Linked DNA regions of Homo sapiens: region 2 is linked to region 1. The links are contacts of gene promoters, found by promoter capture Hi-C in human tissues and cell types (Jung and others, 2019). All regions are on one chromosome and are shown on one strand. The core of a region is centred on a gene start or on the middle of the fragment in contact, and the rest is flanking DNA. Distances in the headings are between cores, read along the strand shown.

Region 1 (4,883 bases), core at 1,547-4,046:
TCCCCCTCTTCTCATCTCCAGGAATTCCATGAGTACATTCAGAGCTCTGCTGAAACCCAGATCCAGTGTCCGAGTGCTTTTGAGAGGACAAGTAGCACCATCAAAAAGGGAAACCCATTCCTTTATTCAAAAACCACCCGGGGCCAGGCGCGGTGGGTCACACCTGTAATCCCAGCGCTTTGGGAGGCCGAGGCAGGTGGATCACTTGAGGTCAGGAGTTCGTGACCAGCCTGGCCAACGTGGTGAAACCCCGTCTCTACCAAAAATACAAAAATTAGCTGGGCATGGTGGCGCATGCCTGTAATCCCAGCCACTCAGGAGGGTGAGGCAGGAGAATCGTTTGAACCCGGGAGGCGGAGGTTGCAGTGAGCTGAGATCGTGCCAGTGCACTCCAGCCTGGGAAACAGAGTGAGACTCCATCTCAAAAAAAAAAAAAAAACCACCTGTCGGGCTGTGGTTGGGTGTATGACGTGTCTTGGTCCACGTCAGTTCCTGGGGAATCTCTGCTTCCCTTTCTGTGCTCCCCTTTCCCATGGGCCCCCGCCTGCCAGGGGCTGCAAAGCCCGTGCCCATCAATCTCCCTGAGCACCAGCCTCGCATGGGAACCCCCCGAGACACAGGTTCTGGGCCACCTCACCTCCAGCCCAGCCTCAGATAGAGGAGCGCATTCTCTGGGTCTGGAGTGGGTGCATTAACTCATTGTCCAGCTGTCACAAGACTGGCTGCAAACCCAGGTCCCCCACTGCAGCCCACCAGGCCAGGGTCCCCTGTGCTACCTCTGTCTCCATTTTAGTTCTGAACAGTCTAAAGCATGTGTATCCAGGGGCCTTTCTTTGGGGTCCCCGTCCCAGCACCCCTCATCTCCCCCATGAGGACTTCTTCCAAGCCCCTCAAGCCTCCTGCCCTCAGGGACCCAGGATGGACCTTTCCTCCCTGACCTTCATTCCTATCCCCAGCGAGGCGACAGCTGCTCTTGGCCAACCACGCCCCCTCCACCCCCACAGCCACTTCCACATCTCCATCAGTTCCTCCTTGTGGGTCCGAGGCGCTCTGCCGCCGGCCCCTCCTCACTTCTTCCTCCCTGGGGATGGATCCAAGCTATTGTCCTGCCCATGGCTTCCCATCTCAGGACCCTCTCTGGCCGCTATCATCCCAGCAGTGGAGTTCAGCCCACTACTCTGAACCAGGTTAGTCCACCGCGGGTCAGGCTCTCCCCTCTCCCAGGAGGGTGGAGACCACAACCAGGCCATGTATGGAGCTTCCCTTTCTCCCACTCTCGGGCACCCCCTCCTCCCCCTTCCCGGCCTCATTCATAGGTGTCCTGGTTCCCAACCAGGCGTGCAGGCCTGTGTGCAGCTCCGATCGAGGGCTGGCCCACTGCCGAAGCTTTCATTAAAGTGTCTGCTGGCCTGGTCCTGCGGAGGGAACAGAGCCGAGATGTGGGGCAGGGAAGGGGTCTGCCTGTCTTCCGTGCCCCCGTGGAGGGCAGCACCGGGGTTTTGGGCAGCAGGTGAAGGCTCTGTCCCCTCCACCTTCAACTCTGGAAGCCCCACCTTTCCATCCCTAAGAAGGGTTTGATAAAAACCCTTGTCTGTAAATTAGAGATGGGAAATGGCTCTGGGAAAAGTCAGAGGTCAGTTTGGGCCCGGGAGGGCGACAGATGGAGGCAGCTCCGGCTGGCAAGGAGACCAGGACAGAACTGCCAGAGGTGGGGGCAGGGGACAAGGAGGGAGATGAGGGGAGAAGACACCCAGGGGTCCCCCCCTGCTATCTCCAGGAGCAAGACTACTCTCTTCTCTGAGCGGCCCTTTCCACACCTCTGCCCCCACCGAAGCCCTCCCTCCCCTCTCAGACCCCTTCCAGGCCTGCTGAGCCCCCTGCACCTCTTTCAGGAAGCCTCCCAGAGCCCCCGCGCTGTGCCCTCAGCACCAGGGGTCAGGCTACAAATGCCCCGCAAAGCCCAGCGGGACTGTTTCCTCAGCCCCACTGGTCTCTGCCCTAAAGCAGGCGAGTTCTGGAGCCAGGCAGGGGTGAGGAAGGTGCCAGGGTTGTGGCCCCTCATCGCCCCTCTATGATCTCTGACACCTCTCCGGGTGGCATCAGGCCCCCATCACAGCGAAGGCTGGGTGGTGGGGGCACTGCGCTCAGGGGGGCCGTCCCGCCCTGTGGCCCGGGGGCGATTTCCCGCACCGGAGGGCTGCAGGGAGGGGGCGTGGTGGCGCCCTCGAGATTTATGAGAACCAGGCGTCGACTTCCTCCGTTGCGACATCCAGGCCTCCTCCAGGCTCCCATTGTCCCTGCTGCGGAGAGTCTGGCCACAGCGGCGGCTCCCGCGAAGCACCCGTCAGCGAGGGGCGCTTCGAGGGCGTCCGCGTCCCATACACCCGCCACGCAGGACATTCCCCCGGCCCCACGCTCCGCGCTCCCGGGGCCACCACCACCGCGGGCTCGAGGGGTGGCCTCCACGAGGAGGAGTGGGAGTCCCGCGCCTGGCCTGGGGCCGGCTCGGCGACATGGGGACCCCCGCCCAGATGGGGCGACTCGGAGCCGGCTCCTAACCCCTCTCTCCGGGCCCCAGGACCGGGCAGTCTCGGCACCGCAGCTGCGGGGAGCCAGCAAGCACCGGCCACCGGCGCCGCTCGGGCTCCGCGGATGGCCGGGGGCGGGGCCTGAGCGGCGCAAGTGGGGGCGGGAGGGGGCGGGGCCAGGACGCGCGAGGGGGGGCGGGGCCGGGGCTCGCGGCGGGGGCGGGGGCGGGGCGGGGCCGGGAGGCGCGCGCCTCGCGGGCGGAGGGGCGCGCCGCGCTGGGGCTGGGCTTGGAGCGCGCGGAGCTCGGCTGCCAGAGAGCCGCGCGGGGGACGCGCCGGGACCGCGAGGAGCGCAGGAGCCTTCGAGGCGGTGAACGAGGGAGGGAGCCCAGTCCGCCGCGGGCCATGAGCCACCGGGCCCGGGGAGCCCGGCCGCGGTCCGGGCAGCGCTCAGCCGGCGCCCCAGCCCGCTCGGCCGCAGCTGCGCGCCTGTAGGTATGGCCTCCTTATACCCAGTTCCTCGCTCCCTGGTCCTTCCCCCGGGACCCCTGTCTGTCCCCGGGGACGTGCGCTGTGTGCGCACCGCTGCCCGAAGGAGAGCGGCCGCACGCGCCTTGGTCCGCGCGTGTCGTCTTTGTGTGCGCGGGTGGGAGGGAGGAGGGCGCGCGAGGGAGGGGAGGCGCCCCCGGCTGGGATCTGCTCCCCGATCCCCATCCCGGGCGGGGCGGGGAGCCGCTGGAGGGGCCGAGCCGCCTCTGGAGCAGCTGCGCCCCCGCCCCCTGCTAGGGCCCCGGCCGGGTAGTGGGGCGAGAGCAGCCGGGTCCTTAGAGGAGGGGTCTCTGGTTGGGGGAAGGGGTGCCCAGGTCTCTTCCCTACGCTGGGAGCGCTGGGAGGGGGCGTCAACCTAGAATGAGGGTGAGGGCCACGGGATGGGATCGGGGAGGACCTCCTCCAGGCCACAGGCACGCCCTCCCTTTGGCCCAGGCCCCCCTTTCTCGACCTGCCCAGCCGGGGAGCTCCCCGGAGCCCCCGATTGCCGGGAGGATCGTGGAGGGTGCCCAAGAGGCCGGCGCCTTTAAGAAGGGGCGGGTTCGTGCCCTCCATTCAGGCCCTTGGGCCTCGGCCATTGATGAACCTGCGGGCTGCGCGGGCCGGAACCGCGCCAGCCCAGCGGGCTGAAGCCGGGCAGAGGCAGGGACGCATCCTGGCCCCCTGCAGCCCCGAAGTGGGGGCCTTCAGGGAGGGAAGTCTGCAGTGACTGGAGCCTCTCAGGAGCCACGCAAGGCAGACCGGGCAGCCCCAGGCGAGACTCTGAACACGAATAAGCCAGGATCTACGTGCACTTCGAGCTAGTGCAAGGGAGAGCCTCAGGCTAGGCTGTCAGACCTGGGTGGAGCCCTACCAATGCCCCCGAGCCAACATCACCTACCCTGTAAAATGGGATGGTGCTGCCTGCCTCCTGGCTAAGGGACCGGCAACTCCCGGCAGGAATTGCGTCCCAGAGTCAGGTCCCTGGAGCTCCTCTGGGAGGACTGGGGGCAGGGGGTGTGGTTTCCCCAAGAGGTTTTGACTGCCTCTTGAGCTGAAGCCCCCACTACTGTGTCCCACCTTGAACTCTCCCAACCTCTTCCCTCCTGGCCTCCCCACTCCACGCAGGAAGAGGTTGGGAGAGTGACCTAGAACTTTTCAGCTCCAGGAGCTTTGGGAGAGGTCTGGTGGTGGCGGTGGTGGCACTTCTTTTAGGCTAGTGTGGATCAGGGCATTTTTGGGGGTCTCAGAGACAGTTTCCCACCAGCTACTTCCTTAGAGGTCTGTCCTACCAACATACAAGAACAGCCCCACCCCGTGGCAGGCCGGCTTCTGATGCTGCTTGGTTGAATGCTTCTAGGTAATCAAGGGTTAATGCACACGCTTTTCTTTTTACCCTTGTTGTGAAAAATCTGTCTGAAGTTTCTAAATCCCTCTTCCCTACTTAGCGTGAATCTCCTAGGGAGGACTTCTATACAAATACCCAGGGGTGGGCTTCCCTTGGGGGTCTTGGAAGTGGGATCTCCACCCAAGTGATCCTGGGCCTCCCAGGGCTGAGCTTTTGGTTTCAAACTTACTTGTGCCAAGCTAAGGGCATCAGGATCGCCGTTCGTGTCATCTTTACAACAATCCTGTGGGTTTAGTGCTATTATTATCCCCACACACTTAGGGAGGGGAAGTGACTGGCCCAAAGTCCCGCAGTCAACGAGCCAGGCCTCCCAACCACTCCTCTCTGACAAGAGGCTGGCACTTCTTGCCCTGCCTACCCAGCCTGGGTTGCAAGGAATTGGGGGTTTAGGGGCTTCAGGCCTCCTGGCTGCTGTCTTC
Region 2 (4,883 bases), core at 2,384-4,883, 1.1 Mb before region 1:
AACTGTCTGTGCCATCTTATTCTTGACCTAATAAATAGCTGCCGGGCTTGGTGGCTCACACCTGTAATCCCAGCATTTTGGGAGGCCGAGGCGGGTGGATCACGAGGTCAGGAGTTCGAGACCAGCCTGGCCAACATAGTGAAACCCCGTCTCTACTGAAAATACAAAAATTAGCTGGGCGTGGTGGCATGCACCTATAATCCCAGCTACTTAGGAGGCCGAGGCAGGAAAATCACTTGAGCCCAGGAGGTGGAGGTTGCAGTGAGCCGAGATCACACCATTGCAGTCCAGCCTGAGCGACAGTGCAAGAGTCTGTCTCAAAAAAAAAAAATAAATAAATAAATAAATAAGTAGCACCACAATAGTTCAGGCAGCCAATAATCTATGCCACTGGTAAGATATTCCACTAGTATATGTCATATATCTTAGACGATGGTGTTGAAAAGCCTAAGGTGGAGGCAGAGGAGAAAAGAAAACAAAAGCAAAAGGAAGAAGAAAAAGTAAAAGAAGAAAGAAGTTGGGCCCGGGCGCGGTGGCTCACACCTGTAATCCCAGAACTTTTGAGAGGCCAAGGCAGGCAGATCACTCGAGGTCAGGAGTTTGAGACCAGCGTGGCCAACGTGGTGAAACCCCATCTCTACTAAAAAAATAAAACTTAGCGGGGTGTGGTGGTAGATATCTGTAGTCCCAGCTACTTGGGAGGCTGAGGAAGGAGAATTGCTTGATCCGGGGAGGTGGAGGCTGCAGTGAGCCGAGATCGTGCCACTGCACTCCAGCGTGGGCAACAAGAACGAGACTCCGTCTCAACAACAACAACAACAACAAAAAAAAAAAAAAAAAAGGAAGAGTCTGGGAAGAGGAAATGATAGGTACCATTATGAAGTGTTTACAGATACTTGCTATACATTACCTCTAATCCTCAGAACCACCTTGCAAGATATGTACTACTGTCCTCTTTTTTTTTTTTTTTTTTTGAGACAGAAGGCTGAGTCAGGAGGCTGAATCAGGAGAATCACTTGAACCCGGGAGGTGGAGGTTGCAGTGAGCCGAGATTGTGCCACTGCACTCCAGCCTGGGCAACAGAGCAAGACTCCATCTCAAAAAAATAAATACACAAAATAAATAAATAAAGTGGAGACAGGAGGTGAGGCCTTACCAACAATTGCATCATGTGCTACTCAAAAATAATAGCACATTAGTTGCCAACAATTATCTACCATTAACTTTTCTGCATGACAAAATTTAAGATTTTCTCTTATCCTTCTATCCAGACCTCTTTACTTTATCATTTGTGCTAGGGAAGCAGGAGCCTCAGAGAGCCAGCATAAAGCCATTTTAAGTTCAGCTCCATCTTGAAACTAACAAGGCACATTCCTTGTCAGTCACAACCCAAAGCTGTTTACAGTTGGGGAAACAGCTTAAAGATACCTGCAAGGACAGACTCCTCCAACTACAGAAAATCCAGATGCCCCAATACCCATAACAATATGTGCCTTTAAGATAATTATAGTTCTGGCTGGGTGTGGAGGCTAAGGCAGGATTGCTTTAGGCCAGGAGTTCGAGATCAGCCTGGCCAACATTGCAAAACCCCCTCTCTACTAAAGATACAAAAATTAGCTGGGTGTCGTAGCACATGCCTACAATCCCAGTAGTGAGACCCCATCTCTACAACAAAATATTTTTTTAATTAATTGGATGCACTGGTTCATGCCTGCAGTCACAGCTACTTGGGAGGCTGAGGTGAAAGGATGTAGCTGTAATCCAGCTATTAGGGATGCTGAGACACAAGAATGGCTTGAACCCAGGAGGTGGAGGTTGCAGTGAGCTGAGATCACGCCACTGCACTACAGCCTGGGCAACAGATCAAGACTCTGTCTCAAGAAAAAAAAAAAAGGAAGAAAGATAATTAAGTTTTGCTTTGATGTACTTACCTACTAGAATGTCAAGGATAGTTAAATTAACAGAATAATAAATTTTGTCATGCCATTGGCCCATCTGCACATTGACTCGGCTTAGTTTAGTCTCTACAAAAACAAGACCCCTATATAAGAAAAACTTAAAGGTCAGGGGCGGTGGCTCATACCTGTAATCCCAACACTTTGGGAGGCTGAGGAGTGTGGATACCTTGAGTCCAGGAGTCCCAGACCAGCTTGGGTAGCATGACAATACCCTGTGTCTACAAAACATACAACTATTAGCTGGCTGTGGTGGTGCATGCCTGTAGTCCTAGCTACTTGGGAGACTGAAGTGGGAGGATCGCTTGAGCTCAGGAGGTGGAGGCTGCAGTGAACTATGATCATGCTACTACACTCCAGCCTGGGCAACAGAGTAAGACCCTGTCTCAAAAAAAGAAGAAAAAAAAAAAGAAAGAAAGAAAAGAAAAACTTAAGACAGTGTGTTCCTCTGTTTGCTTTCTGAGGACGCCCTACTCCGTAAGGGTGTAGCTTTCAATAAACTCTCTCTTCTCATCGCACTCTACGACTTGCTTTGGGTTCCTTCCTGCATGAGATCCAAGAATTCTCTCTTGGGGTCTGGATCGGGACCCCTTTTTCCAGTAACATGTAGACACACACACACATTCAGTTTAAAAGCCCATATTACAACGTACATCCACCTCATCTTCACACTGAGATTTGGGTGACATCTGTCCCTTTTTGAGTTTTGACCCAAGTTAACCTTTTAAGACGCTCTTTATTTCTTCCCCTTTTGCCTCAGTTCACGTTCCTCCCCCTTCTCCTTACATGCCTTTTATAGCAGCCTCTCCTTTTCTCTTTTATTCTTTTTCTACACATTTCTCTTACTGTAAAATCAGAAGCCAGGCGCGGTGGCTCACGCCTGTAATCCCAGCAGTTTGGGAAACCGAGGCGGGAGGGTCTCTTGAACCCAAGAGTTCGAGACCAGCCTGGGCAACATAGTAAGACCCCCGTCTCTACTAAAAAAAAATTAAAAATTAGCTGGGCATGACGGTGTGCGTCTGTAGTCCCAGCTACTCAGGAGGCTGAGGCGGGAGGATCGCTTGAGGCCAGGAGTTCAAGGCTGCAGAGAGTCACGATCCCACCACTGCACTCCAACCTGGGTGACGCGGCCAGACCCTGTCTCTAAAAAGAAAAAAACTAGAGGGGTGTATCTATCACGCTTTCAATAGATATTCAGCTTGGGTTCTATACTTTTCTCATGACCCTTTGTCTTTCTGTTTTCCAGGTCACTCCTCCTCCCCTACACTTAATTCCCACCCTGCTCCCTTTTCACGGCCCACTCCCCTTCCAGGAGTCCTGCCTGCTGCTTCGAACTCCAATGATCGTCCCATTCACCTCTCACCCCTTTTCCCGCCTTTTTGCCCCACAAGGCTCCAAAGCGCGAGGACCTTATTGTCCTCCTCCCCCATCCTCCAACCAGCCCACAGGACAGCCGCGTTACCATGACGACCGGGCTCCTAGAAGCTGCAGTCAAGGACCTGGTTGCCATGGTTTCCGCTTCTCCGCCTCCAGCCCCGCCCGCGCTCCCCGCGGCGTCGGCGCCTGCGCAGTGCGTGGCGCGCCGGGAGTCAGAGCCTGGGCGGGACGGGGCGGGGCTTCGGGCGAGAGGGAGGGCAGCAGGAGAAAGGATAAGAAAGGGAGTGGGACTGGCGCCTACGGTGGCCGAAGTGGGACGCGCCGAGCCGGAGGCTGCAGGATGGTAGGCTGTGCGAAGAGGGAGGGGAGGGGGAAGCGAGGGGCGTGGGCTGCACCTGCGGGGGTCCTCGGGGGCCGCCCTCGGGGTGAACCGCCCTGTCTTCCCTCTGGTCCTCAGAGGCCTCCCTTGCCTCGGCGGGTGGGCGAGCCGGGCTCGGGAGGAAGAGGGGGAGGTGGCATTCGGGAGAGGGGCGGGGAGGGGGCGCATTTGCAGGGCGAGCGGGGGCTGACGAAGGGGCGGCGGGGCCGTCCCGAGCCGGGAGGGGCGCTCTGGTCTTGGCCCCTGGGGTCCCTCGATCCCCGCTGCAGGGAAGCCGCCCGAAGCAGAGGGTTGCGGGAGTCTCTTTGCTGAGGGAGGGAGCGGGGGTCACCAGTCACCGAGACCCCCTTCCCGGGCTGCACAGGCGGGAGCGGGGACCCGGGTGGGGAGAGGGGTGTGGGAGGGGAGTTTCCGGGTCGGAAAAGGGAGCGCCCTACTGCGTTCGTGGCCGTGCTTGCCTAGAGGCTGGGCCCAGGTAGGGAAGCGAAGTGGACTCGTGGTTTTTCTCCGAGGGACCCAGGCTTTGGGATCCCGGGCTCCGGGGCTCTCTGCCCCCCTTCCCATTCTCTTTCCGGAATCCAGGCCTTCCGTCTTCCTGCTTGCTCCCCACCCCCCTATTTGAGCGCCGCACGAGGCTCCCCAGCGCCCCTCTTTTCCCCTCCACCAAAAAAATCAGTTCTCCTGAATTCTGATTTTTCACTTACTAAGCTAGTACAGTGCCACACACCCAGGGATTCCAAGCCTGGGCATGTCCATGAATAGAAGAGCTACTGGGGTAAGGAGAAGACTCCAGGATGTGGCCCAGACCCCCCGGAACTGGGAAGCTGGGGTACACTGGGCAGTGAGGGTTCTGTCTTCCATCCCACTTGACCCAGCTTGCTGTCTGTTCTGCAGACATTCTTTTAGGGGAACCCCCTGGGTGGCGGGGCCCTAACTGAGGGAAATTGGTCACCTGGTGTCTGGGGAGGAGTGGGCGCTTAGCAGGAGGCACCCTAAAAGGAAGAAAAGTTAAAGAGAAATGTCGAAGACCAAATGCCTGGGTGCCTGCAGAGAGGAAGATAGGATTTGGGCATCTGCATACCCTGTGTGGTGTTGGAGATACATACTACAGAGGAGGATACCCCTGGGCATAGGCCTGGCACTGGAGGATGATATGTTTGGGAGATCATTAA

Evidence for each region. The method cuts DNA at HindIII sites, captures the fragments that hold promoters and counts their contacts. A contact is called where the count stands out against the background at its distance.
Region 2: a contact is called between the fragment with the promoter of AP1S1 here and the fragment with the promoter of SH2B2 in region 1, in 1 of the 25 tissues and cell types used here (dorsolateral prefrontal cortex).

Annotation. Positions count from the first base shown.
Region 1 is chr7:102,284,072-102,288,954 of GRCh38, forward strand. It overlaps SH2B2 (SH2B adaptor protein 2), which reads left to right and starts at 2,797. Exons shown (of 9, transcript NM_001359228.2): 1 at 2,797-3,023. RefSeq lists silencers at 153-337, 2,115-2,694, 2,765-3,304 and an enhancer at 4,455-4,544. The HindIII fragment of the contact is 12,688 bases long and covers 1-3,449 here.
Region 2 is chr7:101,150,843-101,155,725 of GRCh38, forward strand. It overlaps AP1S1 (adaptor related protein complex 1 subunit sigma 1), which reads left to right and starts at 3,634. Exons shown (of 5, transcript NM_001283.5): 1 at 3,634-3,675. The coding sequence starts at 3,673. RefSeq lists a silencer at 3,376-3,615 and enhancers at 3,426-3,720, 4,040-4,540. The HindIII fragment of the contact is 24,473 bases long and covers 1-4,883 here.